Regions from separate parts of the Homo sapiens genome. Here region 1 is linked to region 2. Evidence: promoter capture Hi-C in 16 types of primary human blood cells and fetal thymus (Javierre and others, 2016). All regions are on one chromosome and are shown on one strand. Each heading gives the region's core, a stretch centred on a gene start or on the middle of the fragment in contact. The rest is flanking DNA. Distances are from core to core; before and after follow the strand shown. Region 1 holds the start of ZNF121 (zinc finger protein 121). Region 2 holds the start of PPAN (peter pan homolog).

The links. Contacts are between HindIII fragments. The CHiCAGO score rates a contact against its expected background, and 5 or more counts as called.
Region 1: the fragment with the promoter of ZNF121 here is called in contact with the fragment with the promoter of PPAN in region 2 in 1 of 17 cell types (fetal thymus); the score reaches 6.1 in fetal thymus.

The regions. Positions count from the first base shown.
Region 1 is chr19:9,581,942-9,585,999 of GRCh38, forward strand. ZNF121 (zinc finger protein 121) reads right to left here and starts at 2,563. Exons shown (of 4, transcript NM_001008727.5): 1 at 2,520-2,563. RefSeq lists enhancers at 1-514, 515-1,327, 2,142-2,953. The HindIII fragment of the contact is 737 bases long and covers 2,260-2,996 here.
Region 2 is chr19:10,104,675-10,109,353 of GRCh38, forward strand. PPAN (peter pan homolog) reads left to right here and starts at 1,688. Exons shown (of 12, transcript NM_020230.7): 1 at 1,688-1,738; 2 at 1,827-1,997; 3 at 2,831-2,932; 4 at 3,130-3,180; 5 at 3,290-3,460. The coding sequence starts at 1,721. PPAN-P2RY11 (PPAN-P2RY11 readthrough) reads left to right here and starts at 1,688. Exons shown (of 13, transcript NM_001198690.2): 1 at 1,688-1,738; 2 at 1,827-1,997; 3 at 2,831-2,932; 4 at 3,130-3,180; 5 at 3,290-3,460. The coding sequence starts at 1,721. It overlaps SNORD105 (small nucleolar RNA, C/D box 105), which reads left to right and starts at 2,977; the gene lies at 2,977-3,061. It also overlaps a transcript of ANGPTL6 not described here. RefSeq lists enhancers at 1,325-1,968, 1,565-1,614, 3,257-3,900 and a silencer at 1,835-1,884. The HindIII fragment of the contact is 12,960 bases long and covers 1-4,679 here.

The sequences.
Region 1 (4,058 bases), core at 1,313-3,812, 520 kb before region 2:
CTCAATTTACACTCAAATTGTTCACCATAAAATGTATTTACCTGAGGTGAAAGAAAACAAGCACAATGCTCAAAAAGTAAGTGTTCAGGCACAGTGGCTCACACCTGTAATCCCAGCATTTTGGGAGGCCGAAGCAGGTGAACTGCCTGAGCTCAGGATTTCGAGACCAGCCTGGCCAACATGGTGAAACCTTGTCTCTACTAAAATACAAAAAAAAATTAGCTGGGCATGGCGGCATGTGCCTGTGTCCCAGCTACTAGGTGTCAGGCCTCTGAGCCGAAGCCAAGCCATCAGACTCCCTGTGACCTGCACGTATACATCCAGATGGCCTGAAGCAACTGAAGAACAACAAGAAGAAGCGAAAATAGCTAGTTCCTGCCTTAACTGATGACATTCCACCATTGTGATTTGTTCCTGCCCCAACCTAACTGATCAATTGACCTTGTGACATTCCTTCTCCTGGACAATGAATCTCAGGAGCTCCCCACTGAGCACCTTGTGATCCCCGCCCCTGCCCGCAAGAGAACAACCTCCTTTAACTGTAATTTTCCACTATCTACCCAAATCCTATAAAACTGCCCGACCCCTATCTCCCTTTGCTGACTCCTTTTCTGAACTCAGTCTGCCTGCACCCAGGTGATTAAAAGCTTTATTGCTCATACAAAGCCTGTTTGGTGGTCTCTTCACATGGACGCACCTAATGCTAGGGAGGCAGGAGAATTACTTGAACCTGGGAGGCAGAGGTTGCAGTGAGCCGAGATCGCACCTCTGCACCCCGACCCGGGTAGCAGAGCGAGACTCTGTCTCAAAAAAAAAAAAAAAAAAACTACTAGACTGGGTGTGTTAGATGTTCAAGTTTTCCCTAGGATCAAATTTTTCAGAAAAAAATGTCAAAACTACACTTAGTCTAAACATGCTGTTAATAAATTCAATAGATACTACTTTATTACACTAATACTAGAATAATATTCTGATTATAAAGCCTCCATCCTGGCCAGGAGCGGAGGCTCACGCCTGTAATCCCAGCTCTTTGGGAGGCCGTCAGGCGGATTACAAGGTCAGGAGTTCGAGACCAGCCTGGCGAGCATGGTGAAACCCTGTCTCCACTAAAAATACAAAAAAAAAAAATTAGCTGGGCATGGTCCCCATGCCTGTTGTCCCTGCTACTCGGAGGCTGAGGCAGGAGAATCACTTGAACCCAGGAGGTGGAGGTTGCAGTGAGCTGAGATCGCGCCACTGCACTCCAGCCTGGGCGACAGAGCAAGACTCCGTCTGAAAAAAACAAACAAAAGCCTCCATCCTTTCTTCCTGTGGGCCCGTTTTGAAGCTCTGTGGGGGGGTACAGACCTAGGAACTTCAGATAAAGACAACAGCTGTGTATTATTGCCTTTCTTTCTTTTTTGAGACGGAGTTTCGCTCTCATCGCCCAGGCTGGAGTGCAGTGGCAGATCTCGGCTCACTGCAACCTCGGCCTCTCAGGTTCAAGCAATCCTCCTGCCTCAGCCTCCCAAGTAGCTAGGATTACAGGGGACTGCCACCAAGCCTGGCTTTTTTTTTTTTTTTTTTTTTTTTGTGTGTGTGAGACGGAGTCTCCCTCTTTTGCCCAGGCTGGAGTGCAGTGGCGCGATCTCGGCTCACTGCAAGCTCCGCCTCCCGGGTTCACGCCATTCTCCTGCCTCAGCCTCCCGAGTAGCTGGGACTACAGGCGCCCGCCATCGCGCCTGGCTAATTTTTTGTATTTTTAGTAGAGACAGGGTTTCACCATGTTGGCCAGGCTGGTCTCGAACTCCTGACCTCAGGTGATCTGCCCGCCTCGACCTCCCAAATGGCTGGGACTACAGGCGTGAGCCAGCGCGCCCAGCCTGCCTTTCTTTTGTAGAAAGGCTTGTAGCTGGTAACAACAAAAAACATTAAGTCCAAGAAAATAAAATAAGAAACTAAAGGCTCACAGTCTACACGTGTTCATATTTACATGCAGATATAGGCACACCCTAAACGACTATTTTTTTTCCATCAGAAAGTAATGTGTCAAAAATAAGAATAGGACATCAATGCCAGATTCTCAGACGAGACATTTTTAAGCAAAGAAATGGAAGTCAGAGCCCTCTTGAAACCAATTTTCTGCAGGTGTTCACCAGGAACATGCCGGAAACGCCAGGTTCCTGAGGCGCGGAAATGCGGGGCCGGAGCCAACCTGACTGGAACGGCAGAAATCCTTTTACTTTCAGAAAGAAAGAAACTCACAAAGGTTGCTTTCCAAGCTTTTGAAGAAGGGAGCACAGCGGATGAAACCACTCCAGAAAACGCGCGGAGTCGGGACAAACACACTTCCCGACCTGGCTCCTGACTGGGACCCACTGAGCCTGCGGCCTCTAGCCACTGGCCGCGCAAGGAGGACCGACAGCCCCTGGAGAAGAGAGTGAAACGAGGCGGATCGGAGAGGCTCCTGGGCGACAGCACCCAATCGTTCCTTTGCCGCCCCCCGCTATCTCCGGGATCCCCAAGCAGGCGGAACTCACCACAGCCAGGGTGGACTCCACCACGATAAAGGCGAAATGGCACTGACCATGCGGAGCCAGCGCCGGAAAAGATGGCGATTGTGCGCTGACGTCACTTCCGCTCCGAGCCTCGGGCCGGGCGGGGCTCCTGGGTTCGAGTTTCAGCCACATAGGACCCAGTCAAACACAGAAATTGTAGTTTCTTCCCGGGTGGGCGCGGACAGGCCCTTACTTGGGGGCGGTTTAGAGGTGGGACCCGGCTAGCCGGCGGTTCAGGTGGCCGGACCTGCTGGAAGGGCGGGCGTGGGGGATGGGACGCACCCCAGGGGATGCTCCTGCAGAGCTTTTCCCAGGTGGGCACAGTGGCTAAGGCCTGTAAGTCCAACACTTTGGGAGGCTAAGGCAGGTGGATAGCTTGAGTCCAAGAGTTCAAGACCAGCGTGGGCAAAATAGCAACATCCTTTATTAAAATATATATGTGTGTATACATATATATAAAGCTTGTTTGTATACATCTCATGTTCCTAGAGCCTTTCCATGATTCTTCCATATGGATAAAGCTGCCAGTGAATGGCATGGTCTATCTCTTCTATTCAGTCAGGCTTTCTGTAGGCCTTTATTTCTTCATTCTTTATTTTTTAGAACCTGCTGGTTCCATTGCGTTTTCTTTTTTCGTTTTTCTTTTTCATTTTTTATTTTTTTTTGAGACAGATCTCACTCTGTTGCCCAGGCTGGAGTGCAGTGGCATGACCTCGGCTCACTGTAACCTCTGCCCCCCGGGTTCAAGTGATTCTCCTGCCTCAACCTCCCGAGTAGCTGGGATTACAGATGTCTGCCTCCACGCCCAGCTAATTTTTGTACTTTTAGTAGAGAAGAGTTTCACCATGATGGCCAGACTGATCTCGAACTCCTGACCTCCAATGATCTGTCTCCCTCAGCTTCCCAAAGTGCTGGAATTATAGACATGAGCCACCGCACCCGGCCACGTTTTCAATATAATAATATTTTCTGTAAATCTTGATTTTTTTTTGTCTTCATCAAGTATGTATTTCTGGCTGGGTATGGTGGCTTATGCCTATAATCCCAGCAATTTGGGAGGCCAAGGGATCGTTTGAGGCCAGGAGTTTGAGACCAGCCTGGGCAATACAGCAAGACCCCGTCTCTGTTTAAAAAAAATTTTAAATATGTTTTTGTTTTTGTTTTGAGATGGAGTCTAGCTCTGTTGCCCAGGCTGGAGTGCAGTGGCACGATCTTGCTCACTGCAACCTCTGCCTCCCGGGTTCAAGCGATTCTTCTCTCTCAGCCTCCTGAGTAGCAGAGATTACAGGCAGGCGCCGCCATGCCCGGCTAATTTTTGTATTTTTAGTAAAGACAGGGTTTCACCATATTGGCCCAGTTGGTCTCGAACTCCTGACCTCATGATCCGCCTGCCTCACCTTTCCAAAGTGCTGGGATTACAGATGTGAGCCACCACGCCTGGCCAAAAACATGTATTTCTATTGTTATTTTTCTGATCTTCCCACATGGGCCAGGACCACATTTCCTACATTGTAAAATAGC
Region 2 (4,679 bases), core at 438-2,937:
TTTAAAAAGACACAGCTGGAAACATAACAGTTTCAGGCAACAACTGTATGTTCCAAATATGGTCACACACACATCACAACTTAAAGGGAAATGGGGTGGGCTGAGTGGGTCTTTATCTGTGTGTCAGGCTTGTCCACATCCTGGTTCTTGTGATCACACAGTAGTGCACAGATACAAAACAGGTACACACAGTTGACACCCGGAAACCTATCCACCGCACCACAGAGGTCACCGTCTGTCTCCCACACACTCGGTCACATTTTCACACAAGTCAAATCACACGAGGACGGAACTGGGGGAAGTAACCATGCAGTCATTTCCCAGGGGTACAAAGAAACTCACATAGAGCCCCACAGAGCCCAGGCCCAGGGTCTGAGACCTGTCCAAAGGCCCCACCGACGACCAGCCACACGCCGGGAGAGTCACCTCCTTCCCCTGGTCTGCACCATCCTGAGCTCCCGAGTAACTCGAGTGGACTCCAGGGTTGAAAAAGGAAATGGTCGTCCCAGATCTGAGAGAGGCTGCCAGGCTGGGCTCTGGGCCTGGGTTGGGGCCCCCACACTGGGCCCCTCGGCCCCCCACCCTCAGCCCCCTCTGGCTTCCCCATTGGCAGTAGAGAGGGAGGGAACTTCATAAGTCACAGAGAGGGGCTGAAGAATACAGAGAGTCAGACAGATGGAGATGGGAGAGGCATAGGGAGATGGGAGAGACATAGGGAGATGGCAGAGAAAGGGAGAGACGGGGAGATGGGGAGAGACAGAGAGAGATGGGAAGATGGGGAGAGACCACAGGGAGGCAGATGAGAAGAAAGAAACAGGGATGGGGCCAGACACAGAGAAAGGAAACTTCTTTAGTTTCCATCTTCAGTTATAAATGATGAAAGAGACAACTGATGACAGAGACAAAGTTACAAGAGGGAGAAAGAGACAGGGGGAAGACGAGGGGGAGGGGAGACACATCTGGGGGAGAGGAGGAAGAATTGGGGTGCCAGAGAGAGCAAGGAGGGAGAGGAGGCCGATGGGGGAGGAGAGAGTAATGTTCAGCCCAGTGAGGGGGTGTCCCTTTCCCCCACTGCAAGGTTTTGGGGAAGAAGCCAGAGGCCTGAGGCCAAGACTGAGGCTTTGAGCGGAAAGAAGGAGGGGGCGAGTTATTCACGAAACGCCCGCCTTGCCCTGAGTTTCCAGAAGGTGATGTGGAGTTTCCATCCCTCAGCCTGTCTGCAGACAGGGGTACCCGGGGAGGACAGCTGGCCCAGAGGAGTTGCGAGACTAAAGTGAATGATTGCCACAGTCATTCCCTCCGGTGGCTTCTCCCCAAGTACTTGGCGCCAGAGCGCCCAACATTGTGCATACATGGTCGCTCCTAATTCGTGGGCCCGGGGGACATTATCAGCCTTACTTTGGGATATTTTAGGAGCCTCGGAATGCAGAAAGTGGTTTTAGCCCAGCTGGAGGAAATGGGCCGAAGCGGGATTCGAACCGGCGGATTCGTTTCTCTGCAGCCCGGAGCCGCGTAGCCCCGCCCCGGTCTCCCTAGAAACAGGCACCCGTGTCTCCATAGCAACCGCTCCATCTGATTGCCCCTCCCCGCTCCCAGAGGCCACCTAGTGCGCAGGCCCGCCTGATGTCGTCCCACGCCGTGCCGGCTCTCAGGCGCCGGAAGTGAGCTGCGCAGCGCCGGAAGCGGCGGACGCAGGAGGCCTCGTGGAGGACACAGCAGCATGGGACAGTCAGGGAGGGTAAGGCCCGGCAGCTTGGGAGGCAGGTGGCGCAGGTGGGGTCCCGGCCGAGGTCGCGGCGCTGACCCTTTGTCTCTCGTCGCCGCAGTCCCGGCACCAGAAGCGCGCCCGCGCCCAGGCGCAGCTCCGCAACCTCGAGGCCTATGCCGCGAACCCGCACTCGTTCGTGTTCACGCGAGGCTGCACGGGTCGCAACATCCGGCAGCTCAGCCTGGACGTGCGGCGGGTCATGGAGCCGCTCACTGCCAGCCGTCTGCAGGTTTGTACCCCACCCCCAGCCCGCCTCCACCCACCCTCGGCCTAGTCTTCGTAGCTGCAGTAATGGCTCCCGCTGTAAAACTGTGGGAGGACTTAAGTCTCCCCAGCTGGAAAAAAAGACCCTCATGGGGAGCATCATTTCTGCCTTTCAGGGCTTTTGCTGGGCTGGAGTGAGGGCGCGCAGCTTGGGAGATAGATAGTCGCCTAAGCCTGACAGTTAAGACTGGAATCTGGAGCCGGGCGTGGTGGCTCATGCCTGTATTCCCAGCATTTGGGGATGCTGATGCGGGAGGATCACTTGAGCCCAGGAATTCGAGACCAGCCTGAGCAGCATGGTGAAACCCCGTCTTTACAAAAAATAGAAAAATTAGTCGGATATGGTGTTGCGTGCCTGTAGTCCCGGCTACTCGGGAGGCTGAGGTGGGAGGATTCCTTGAGCCCAGGAAATTAAGGCTGTAGTGAATCGGGATCGTGCCACTTCACTCCAGTCTGGGCGACCGGAGGAGACCGTGTTAGAAAAAAAAAGACTAGAATCTGGAGGCAGCAAAGCAGGGTTGGAAACTGACTTCTCCCCAGTATCTGATGCAAGTTACTTAACCTCTCTGGGCCTGAGTTCGCTCATTTGTCAATGGGAAGATGCGCTGTGAGCAAGAGACAGAGTTAGAACTCAAATCTGCGTCCGACTGACTCTAAAGGCTAAGATCCTTTTGCTCCTCTGGGCTTGTTGAAAGGGTCAGATGCAAGACAGACCATAACAGGATCTGCACCGTCAGCTTATAGTTGTCACAACAAGGGATAAGCTATGTTTTCTTTTTTTCTTTTTGTCATTTCCAGGTTCGTAAGAAGAACTCGCTGAAGGACTGCGTGGCAGTGGCTGGGCCCCTCGGGGTCACACACTTTCTGATCCTGAGCAAAACAGAGACCAATGTCTACTTTGTGAGTAGACGCCCTCACCCTTCATCTCCCCCAGACCCCCCCTTCCCCTATCTCTCATGATGAACACATATGCCTCTGAGCTGCTGTGATTTCTGGCTTCAAAGTAAACGCTCTGAAGAAGAGATGGGGCAAAGGTGCCTACTCCGGGCACCTCTGCTAGACCCCTCCAGAGTCACTGATCTTTTCTTCTCCTGCAGAAGCTGATGCGCCTCCCAGGAGGCCCCACCTTGACCTTCCAGGTCAAGAAGGTGAGAGGGGTGGAGGTGGTACAAAGCCATGTGGGGTGGGAGCTGGACTTGGGGTTGTCCGCAGCCATGTGTGGTTGGTGGTCACCCCCTCCTCTCTCCTGTCCTACAGTACTCGCTGGTGCGTGATGTGGTCTCCTCACTGCGCCGGCACCGCATGCACGAGCAGCAGTTTGCCCACCCACCCCTCCTGGTACTCAACAGCTTTGGCCCCCATGGTATGCATGTGAAGCTCATGGCCACCATGTTCCAGAACCTGTTCCCCTCCATCAACGTGCACAAGGTGGGTCTGGCCTGGCGAGGTGGCAGGTATGGGGGGGTGCAGCGGATAGAGGTGCCACAGGCCCTCAGATGGATTGCTCACTCCTCCCAGCGCTGAGACTGGGAGCTCCTGGGTCTGCTGAGTCCTGAGGTCAAATCCCACTCCTGTGTCTGATGATGCTGGGCAAAAGTGTCCAGAGATTCCCCCAGCGGTCCACACCCCGTGAGCTGCACCTTTTCCAGCCGGTGGAAAGAAATACTGATGGAGCTCTGTTTCCCACGTGTGTTGAGTGCTGGGCTGAGCAGGATCGTAGCATCTCTTCTTAGGGCCCTGTTTTACAGAGGGAAGCTGCGGGCCCAGTGCTATGGCTTCGGCCTGTAATCCCAGTACTTTGGGAGGGCGAGGTGGGAGGATCGCTTGAAGCCAAGACTTTGAGATCAGCCTGTGCAACATAGCGAGACCCCATGTCTACAAAAAGTAGATTTTTAAAAAGCCCGGTGTGGCGGTGCATGCCTGTAGTACCAGCTACTGGGGAGGCTGAGGTGGGAGGATCACCTGAGCCCAGGAGGTCAAGGCTGCAGTGAGTTGTGTTCACGCCACTCTACTCCATCCTGGGTGACAAAGCGAGACACTGTCTCAAAAAAAAAAAAAAAAGCAAATCTGAGGCTGGCAGAGATGCTAAGTTTAGATTCCAGGGGGCAGGACTGGATTTTTAATTTCATCTGGCTCCTGAGTCCTAGCTCCTAATCCTTGTCACTAGTGACTCTCAGATGGGACTTATAAATTATATATAAGATATCAGTCATCAGGGAGGCTAATACGGCTCTGGGACCAGAATTTCTTGTTTACCTTTTTTTTTTTTTTTTGAGACGGAGTCTTGCTCTGTCTCCCAGGCTGGAGTGCGGTGGCACAATCTCATCTCATTGCAAGCTCCGCCTCCCAGGTTCACGCCATTCTCCTGCCTCAGCCTCCCGAGTAGCTGGGACTACAGGTGCCCGCCACCACACCCCGGCTAATTTTTTGTATTTTTAGTAGAGACAGGATTTCACCGTGTTAGCCAGGGTGGTCTTGATCTGACCTCGTGAGCTGCCCGCCTCGGCCTCCCAAAGTGCTGGGATTACAGGCGTGAGCCACCGTGCCCGGCCTTCTTTACTTTTTTTTTAAGAGACGGGGTCTCCGTACGTTGGTCTTGAACTCCTGGGCACAAGCAATCCTGCAGCCTCCGCTTCCCGAGTAGCTG